Regions from separate parts of the Homo sapiens genome. Here region 1 is linked to region 2. Evidence: promoter capture Hi-C in human tissues and cell types (Jung and others, 2019). All regions are on one chromosome and are shown on one strand. Each heading gives the region's core, a stretch centred on a gene start or on the middle of the fragment in contact. The rest is flanking DNA. Distances are from core to core; before and after follow the strand shown. Region 1 has its middle 7.0 kb from the start of LINC01353. Region 2 holds the start of TMEM183A (transmembrane protein 183A).

What was found. The method cuts DNA at HindIII sites, captures the fragments that hold promoters and counts their contacts. A contact is called where the count stands out against the background at its distance.
Region 1: a fragment that was not itself captured here is called in contact with the fragment with the promoter of TMEM183A in region 2 in 1 of the 25 tissues and cell types used here (dorsolateral prefrontal cortex).

What each region holds. Positions count from the first base shown.
Region 1 is chr1:203,291,897-203,296,493 of GRCh38, reverse strand. No RefSeq gene overlaps it. Among named protein-coding and RNA genes, the nearest start is that of LINC01353, 7.0 kb to the right of the region's middle. RefSeq lists an enhancer at 1-135. The HindIII fragment of the contact is 5,946 bases long and covers 1-4,438 here.
Region 2 is chr1:203,006,014-203,010,646 of GRCh38, reverse strand. It overlaps TMEM183A (transmembrane protein 183A), which reads right to left and starts at 3,273. Exons shown (of 8, transcript NM_138391.6): 1 at 3,073-3,273; 2 at 2,784-2,873; 3 at 1,837-2,004. The coding sequence starts at 3,181. It also overlaps the pseudogene MGAT4FP. RefSeq lists enhancers at 2,374-3,146, 3,147-3,921, 3,925-4,054, a silencer at 2,965-3,214 and a cis regulatory region at 4,595-4,633. The HindIII fragment of the contact is 3,668 bases long and covers 439-4,106 here.

The DNA.
Region 1 (4,597 bases), core at 216-2,715, 290 kb before region 2:
GACGGGATGAGGTGGGAGCTGGGGAAGGGGAAGAGACGTGGACAGATGGCCAGACCAATATGGCTGGAAAGGTCCCTAGTGATGTGTTTTTGTTTCTGCGACTCCCTCGGTGTATCAGGAGCAAAAGGATGGGAACGATCTGCTAAAAGTCTGTTATCCTGGAGGCCCCCCAAGAATGTGACCTCCCACACCTTCTCCCTCTAGGCCTTCTCCTATGGTACGAGAAGGTGTGACTGAAAGTGCCAGAAACTCACAGGGGAACACATGGACTTGGGACAGAAGCAGATCTGAAGCTGAATTTATTGCCTCTTTCCCAAATTTAGAAGACAGACATGTTGTAAACCCTCCTCATCCTCACTCCCAGGGGCCCAGGATAAACCCCCTTTATCTCCAGACAAAAAACAAGAGAAGAGGCCCTGAACCTATTGGAGCTTCCCCAGATGTTGTTTTGGCAGAGCCGTAATGGGGCTGGGCCTCCTGGGGCTGAGTGTCTGGGGCAAGCAGGAAGCTGGCATCACAGCTGTGACAGCCAGAGACCACCTGGGGGATGGGGGCTGAAGGGAAGAGGAAGACAGATTCAGAAAGGAGGACACAAGAAAAAGTCTAAAGAAGAGGTACTGCAGCTTCTCACCTGTGGCCTCCTGGCTCTGGGCCTGAGGTACTTCTCTACTGCACCATGGGTTCAGGTCCAGGGATCCGTGTGGTTTGGAGGAAGGAGCTAGGAGAAAGGGAGAGATGGTTGGAGTTCCCTGAGCCTTAGTTTGCTTATATGTAACAAAAGAGTATTGGGCTAGGAGACCCACCCTGCCTCTTAATCTGTCATCTATGGTTCACATTGATGACTCCTTGGGTCCTAGTGGAATACGTGATCACCTGCCAGCAAGAGAGGATTTTCCTGATGAGGTGACAAGATATCCTGGAGCCCTACTTCCTGAGCGGATCCCATATCCAATTACTGGCCCAGTCCTGTCAGTTATCCTCTTGAAATACCTTCTACTCAGCATCACTGAAGCCACCAACTGTTAGATCGTTCTTGGATAGTTTCAACAGTTCCCTAAGTGGTCTCTTTGCCTGAAGTGCTTCCCTTCCTGCCCTTTCCTCAGTCCATACTCTGCTGTCAGAGCTCCTAAACTACAGGTCTGTCTTGTCTCTTTCATGTTTAAAAGCTCTGAAGGCTCCCTACAGTTGAAAGTTTAATTCTTGGTTTGGCCTTCAAGGCCTTTACAATCTGGCCCAACCTCAAAGCTCAATTAACCCATTCTCAGTGTTTCTCAAATACATACTTTGCACTTTCATACCATTGTGCCTTTGTAGTTTCAACAGTGAGGTCTTGCCATGTTGCCCAGGCTCTGGAGTGCTGTGCTTACTCACAGGCATGAACATAGCTCCCTACAGCATCAAACTCCTCACCTCGAGTGATCATCCTCCCTCAGCCTCCTGAGTAGCTGAGTGCCCAGCTTATTGTACCTTTACTCATATTATTTGCTCTGCCTGAAATTCTCTCTGTTCAGCTCTTTGTCCATCAAAAAGCTGACTAATTATCTCCGTGCAAGTGATACAGAAGGAGTGAAAACATTATTTTTCCCACATTATTGAAGAAAAAAGTAAGGAACATATAGGGCAATGGACATGTCAGGAAAGTCTCTAAAAAGGGGGCTGGGGTAGTGGGGTGAGAGTGGGCTAGGGAAGGGTGGGAAAGGATTCTAAATCCTACTTCCTCCATCCCTTCCACTAAGAATAAGGTTGGGGAGGAGTGGAAAGGAATCTTTATTTAGATTAAGAATGGGTGGCCTGAGCTGCTTGTTATGATATATTAGTCTTTTTTTTTGAGACAGGATCTCACTCTGTTGCTTAGGCTGGAGTATAGTGGCATGGTCTCGGCTCACAGCAACCTCCATCTCCCGTGTTCAAGCTATTCTCCTGCCTCAGCTTCCTGGGTAGCTGGGATTACAGCTGTGCGCCACCACACCTGGCTAATTTTTGTTATTTTTAGTAGAGACGGGGTTTCTCCATGTTGGCCAGGCTCGTCTCAAACTCCTGACCTCAAGGGATCTGCCCACCTCGGCGTCCCAAAGTGTTGGGATTATAGGCACCTGGCCTTATATCAGTCTTGTTTTGATGATGACTGGCTCCGATGGCATATAATTATGCTTTTTTACATTGGTGTCCCTGGATGGGCTAATTAAGTTTTTGAACTGACGGATTTGTTCTAGTGCGATGGGCAGAGCACATCCCTTAAAGCCACACTGCTTAGGTTCAAATCCTAGCTGTGCTACCTTAGGCAAGTTATTGAAGCTTTCTGTGCCTTAATTTCTTTATCTATAAAATGAGATTAATAGTAATTCTTACCTCTTAGAGTTGTTGGGAGAATCAAATGAGTTTACAATACTTAGAATAGTGTCTGGCACATAATAGTGGTCAGTACATGTTAACTATTATTACTTATAATTTATACTTTGCTTACTTCCAAGAAGAATTTGAGACAGCTTAAAATATTAAACCACATAGAGGATGATTTTATGTGTGTGTTTATATTATATTAAAGATCAGAAACGAATTGGTAGTAGGAGGAAGAAAGAGAAAGATAGATATTTACAAACTTGTTTGAATCAGATACTTCTTTGACACCTAAATTTATCTTTGAACTTCCAGGAAGCCAAGGTAAAAAGGGAAATACCTGCATTATATAGTTTTCATTGTGAAATATAAAAAAGCATTCAAGTTAGCCTGTTAAAACCCACCCCCACCAGCCCGCTACATCCACACATTCCTCAAGAAGAAATTTATGATATGAATCCCTATGTTGGAATACTGGAGCCAAAGAGTCTGAAGTTGTTCTCAGTTGGCATTTAGTATCTTCCTCAATTGGGTTTACCTTTCATAAGAGCCCATAACGACAACAGAAGTAATCAGGATAATGGCTGGGATAGTAACAATCAATATCATCTCTACATTTCTTTCTATCCTTATTTCAGGGTTTCCTTCCTTCCCTCTTGGCTCAGGAACTCTCTGAGGTCAGGGGTTGAGCCTCGCTCGGTCAAATAGTCAGGTGGCCCCAGGTGGTTTCAGCTGCCTCCCTGAAGCATTAGAGTTGTGTAGAAGCAAGGTGGAACCCATGGCAAAAACTCATGAGGTGAATGGAGACAGGAAGGTTATGAGGTATGTCTAAGAGGGCTTTGAGACGATTGAGCTCCCAAACATGTAACAGAATGATTATCTTAGTGGGAATGGGTAAGCTCCTAGAAAGAGAACAACTCTGTGTCCCCTATTTTTTGAATTCAGCAGAATCTATTGTAAGTCAATATCCTTATGTAAAAACATTGCATAAGTCCAGGAAGACCACCACCACGATCTTCCAGCCTGACCTGCCAGGCTTAAAAAAAGCGGCTCGGCCAGGCGCAGTGGCTCACACCTGTAATCCCAGCACTTTGGGAGGCTGAGGCGGGCAGATCACCTGAGGTCGGGAGTTCAAGACCAGCCTGACCAACATGGAGAAACCCTGTCTCTACTAAAAATACAAAATTAGCAGGGCGTAGTGGCGCTTGCCTGTAATCCTAGCTACTCGGGAGGCTGAGGCAGAAGAATCGCTTGAACCTGGGAGGCAGAGATTCCAGTGAGCCGAGATTGTGCCATTGCATTCCAGCCTGGGCAACAAGAGCGAAACTCCGTCTCAAAAAAAAAAAGAAAAAAAAAGTGGCTCTTTGCCTACGAACTTACACACTCAGAAGCTTTGGACCTATCTCGTTGAATTCTTAGACAGGTTCAGAGGTGTGGCTGGAGGTTAGAGCTGAATTACTCCACAGAAGAAAACAAGAGGAATCTATATTTTTGTTCCTGAGAGAGAGCAGCAAAAAAAGGGGGCTTGAGTAACCTTAAAATGGTGTTGGGAGGGCCTAGAGCCAATGTGAGAGAGGAAGCCGAGGGAAGTTTAAGAACAGAAATGCCCAACACTCCCTTTTTAAGCTCTTTACATTTTTGCAAAATTAACCCCCTCAGGAGACCCCAACCTTCACTAAAGCCCATGATGTATATACAGACCTTGTAAGGAATTCATATGAAGAAACAAGAGACAGGCCTGACACGGCTCACAACAGTGAGAGCGCTCAGGGTCAGCAGGATGATTCCCAAAAGGAACTGACTTGAGATCCCAAAGCCAGAGGCACTGATGAGAAGGAATGTCTTCTCCACCCTCCATCCCCACTTCCAGGGGAATCTGGAATATTTTGAGGAAAACTATTGGATCACTCATCGATCTTCGAATAAAACATTGAACCAATCTTGCCCAGCACCTAAAGAGCAGTTGGGCACAGCTGACGAACAGTTTACCCACTGGGAGCATGGAATTAGGTGTCACCTTCAAATACCTGATGTTTAATGAGGACAACCATCTCCAAAGGGAGGATACCTGCCTGCCCACTGTGCAGTCTACTTCTTGGCTACCTAGCACAGTCCTCCCTGAGAGAGGGTTCCGTGGGGGCTCGTTGAAGCCAATGAGTGGGGAGGAGAAATGCTGCAGAAATTTACCATGTCTGGCTGGCCCTATGGCTCACTGCCATTTATGTATGGGTCACATGGGTCACAAATCAATCACTTGACC
Region 2 (4,633 bases), core at 2,024-4,523:
CTAATAGAATGGTGATAAGTAGCGATTTCAAGTGAAAAATTAAGGACAAAGAAGTATGAAGAATGTCAATACTGGTTGAGTATCCCTTATCAGAAATGCTCAGGACCAGTGGTGTTTCAGATTTTGGCTTTTCCCGCATTTTGGAATATCTTGACCGTACTTATTGGTCGAGCAGCCCTAATCGAAAATCAGAAATCCAAAGTGCTCCAATAAGCATTTCCTTTCAGCATCATGTCATTGCTCCAAAAATTTCAAATTTTGGAGCTTTTCAGATTTGGAATGCTCGACCTGTTTTAATTTTGGGATCCTGAAAAAGAGGGATATGACTAACAATAACTAGAATAATTCCAAAGCAATCATACCATTAATTTCATTAACTTATTACTTCAATATACTTTAACAAATAAAAATATCTATTATCTGATTCTCAGGTACAGGTGAAAGTGCTGGTAAATCTGAGACCAAAAATACATACATCATTTACTATTATTTTTTTCTTTTTTTTTTTGAGACAGAGTCTTGCTCTGTCACCAGGCTGGAGATGTGGTGGTGCAATGCAATCTCGGCTCACTGCTACCTTCGCCTCCCAGGTTCAAGCGATTCTCCTGCCTCAGCCTCCCTGGTAGCTGGGACTACAGGTGCACACCACCACGCCCAGCTAATTTTTGTATTTTTAGTAAAGACAGGGTTTCACCATAATGGCCAGGATGGTCTCGAACTCCTGACCTTGTGATCTGCCCACCTCAGCCTCCCAAAGTGTTGGGATTACAAGCGTGAGCCACCATGCCTGGCCTCACCATTATTTATCGGCTTTCACCTAAACGTAGCTGATCATCAGAACCACTTTAGCTTTAAAAATTCTGGGCTAAGCATGGTAGCTTATGCCTGTAATCTCAGCACTTTGGGAGGCCAAGGTGGGTGGACTGCTTGAGCCCAGGAGCTCAAATCTAGCCTAGGCAACATAGTGAGACCCCTGTCTCTACAAAAAATAGAAAAAATTAGCAGGCATGATGGCATAGCACCTGTAGTCCCAGCTACTCAAAAGGCTAAGATGGGGGGATCGCTTAAGCCTGGGAAGTCAAGGCTGCAGTGTGCCATGATCTTTCCACTACACTCCAGCCCAGGCAAGAGACCAAAACCCTGTCTCAAAAAAATAAATAAATAAAAATTCTGAGTTCCACCCCAAGAGATTCTGACTCATTAAGTCTGAAGGAAAACCCAGAATCTGAATGATGGTTTGGCACGTTATATTATCATCAGTTTATTATTCTTTGTTTCATTTGTGTACATTTCATTGCCATTAGGATATAAAAAAATCACCTACTTTTCTATTTCCCACAATACTTATTAGACATAAAGCAGACATTACTAATTGCAGAGCACTTAAAAGCCCACGATAATGTCTATGTTTGTGTGTAACAAAACTAGTTAACGTAAAATCCACATACTTTGGAAAACATTTTTTGGTTACATCTCTGCTTCCTTACACATTCAGAAATCCAGAAATGCAAAGGCCTTTTATTTTCACATTGCCTTATGGGTTTTTACCTGATAATAACATGTTCTCAATGAAGGGCTACTAGAGTCCAGTTCACAGCTCCAGAACTCTACTAACACGTACTAATCTCTTTCCCTCTCGAATTCAGACAAAAGAAAAAAGAAAGCCCAGGTGTATTAAATCCCGGCCCACTACCAAGGTTCTTAGGGAGAGCCAAGTTTTCTTTAAACTCTCCTGGTATCACGTCTTATATCTCCTCCTGTGCTACTGGGAAAGTAACATCTTCAATTTGTCACCACAGGCAGGTCTAATAAACCAAAAGAGAACAAGCTCCATACCTTTGTGTCTCTTGCTTTTCTTTTTTCTGGAGACAGTTCTCTCATGGATGCTTTCCTCCTGGGCATCCATCTCATCACTGCTGTCGATGATGTCACAGGGCTCACCAGCCCCAGAAAGAGCTTCCTCTGCAGGAACCTGAGAGGCTTCCAAGCCACAAAGAGATTTTACTAGAAGAAAATAAAAGGAGAATGAGATGGCACACAGCTCCACCCAGAAATACAAACAACTTAGCCAAGGTATCAGCATCCATTCAGGAAAGGGGGGAAAAAAAACATCGTTGAGAGAGAAAGGTGAGAATCTGTCACCAAAAAAAATAAAGATTTTAGTATTTTAAATACAAAAAAAAAAAAAAAAAAGGAAAGCAATGGGCAAACTGACTCCAAAGTTGCAGAAACTCCTTTTTTCAGCCCTGAAGAAAAAAGGTGTGTACAATTTTTCCACTATAAACCCTGCAGGATAAAAGCTGATTTGTATTCTCATAAGGTCTACAGAGAAATGTTTGAGACAAATTGAATCCAATTTAATCCTGGTCCTGAGCTGGAGGCAGTAGGTGTCATAAAACACAAGTCTCAGACCCATGAGTAAACAGACTGAAAGCAAGAGAAACACCAGAAAAGGAAAAGAACACTCCAAGGTTATTAAACAAGGAAGCAAACTGCAGAGTAAAACATGTGAACTACAGCAAAGAGATTAATAACCAAGAAGAATGCAGTGGAAACTAAAAAGTATGCAAACATGTTTTTAAATGCAAAGAAAGAAAGAAAATATTTCTGCTACAGAAACTGCTACTCTTGACTAATCCTCCTCCACCCCAATATGTAAGTTAACACTAACGAAAGCAAACACGGTTACAGGAAGACGACTAAAGGACTGCAAGAAAAACAGAAATAAAATACCTAGTTCTGTCTTCGCGGCATGAGTCTTTAAAGGCTCGCGCAAAGCTTACCTTCCTGCTGAACAGCGTTGGCTACGGCTTTCTTGACTCGTCCAGACCTCACGACCGCCGGATCCGAGTTGGCGTAATCCGCCACGGTCACTGCAACACAGCACCAACCCTCAAGGAAGAGGCCTTCTCTCGTCAGCGTCTTCCCCGCCAACACCTCCTCCTCGCTGCAGGCCCCCGGACCGAGCCGCCCTCCAGCCGCGGGCACGCGAGCGCTCACCTCGGCACGGTCCAGCCCCCTCCCAGCCGCCAGCCCCCAAAATGTTTCAGCGCCCCTGCCCCCCTCGCCCACCTCGGCCGGAGCAGGCGTCGTGGGCCCGGAACTTGAGTCGCTTTCCTCTCTTGGGCATGGCGACCGTATCGGGGCGAGGCCTGCCTAGCGGGCCGGGCCCCCGGGCCATGTCTCCGGCCGGAGAGCCGGCCCCGGGAGCCGCAAGCCAGCTCCGCCCGGCTCCGCGGCCATCCCACACCGGAGGCCGCTAACTCTCGCGAGAACATAGGTCCGGGTTCCGAGTCGCGTTGTCGGACGACGCCTCTCCACGCGAACCAATCATCGCCAGGTGCAAGGATACGTCATCATCCGGCACCCGCGAATCAAGCTGGGTCCGGGTTCCAGGTGGAGAGAGAGCTGTTGTACTGGGTGGTGTCGCGTATCGCCGTACCTCGTGTGAGATGAATGGTGTCTCAGAACCATAGCCCACACCTGTGTTGATTAGAATTGAGAGTTTACATCCTGGTCTCCGGGATTCTTCTTAGTAACTCCTCTGTCCACACTCCAGGTCCACTTCAGCACCAAAATGCATATACACTGTCATCTTCGTGCTCTATCTCGGACCACAGAGACTGAGCGCCTGCTAGTCTAACATAGGTCTGTAAGAGTCTTCACTCTATTTTACGAAAGCTATAAATAAATTTCTGAATTCTCAAAATAGGAGAAGGAGTTCTTAAAAGCTTCCAATCGGCCGGGCGCGGTGGCTCACGCCCCTAATCCCAGTACTTTGGAAGGCCGAGGCGGGCGGATCACGAGGTCAGGAGATCGAGACCATCCTGGCTAACACGGTGAAACCCCGTCTCTACTAAAAATACAAAATATTAGCCGGGCGTGGTGGCGGGCGCCTGTAGTCCCAGCTACTCGGGAGGCTGAGGCGGAAGAATGGCATGAACCCGGGAGGCGGAGCTTGCAGTGAGCTGAGATCGGGTCACTGCACTCCAGCCTGGGCGACAGAGCAAGACTCCGTCTCAAAAAAAAAAAAGTTTCCAATCTATCACCATATAAGGTTAGCCGAGAGAAAGGACGAAAGAGAGACCCAAGGTCAGCCGAGGAAGTTTATTAACCTGACGGCTGCTCCACCACAGACAGAGGAGGCACCCCTGAGCTTACAAAATGAGGGGTTTATATGGGGGAGAGAGACCCTGGGGTTGTTTGCTGGTTAATTTTGCCACATATTAGCTTGTGACGTTTATTACAGGAGGGTGTAGGTAAAGTTTGTTTATGCTTCCCATCACCTTCCCCTGTGCGGTCCGGATGATTTGTAATTGGGGTTTGTTTATTGCAGCAAGGTCTGATAAGTGAAGTCTGCTGGCTTCATAAGGACTTAGAAGTGTAAAGAGGCTTGGGGGAAGGAGAAGAGTTGCAGAGCATTAGGGGGAGGAGTGAGCAGCACGGAGAGGTTTGGGGGAAGTGTCGGCAGTACCAAGAAGCTTTTTGGGGCAGTTTGTTCCTAACACACCATACCTCCAAAAAACTACTAGAAGCATCCATGAAAAACTATCGCAGAGGCAGGAAGGTCACTTGAGTCCAGGAGGTCAAGGCTGCAGTGGGCCATGATTGCGCCACTGCACTCCAGCCTGGG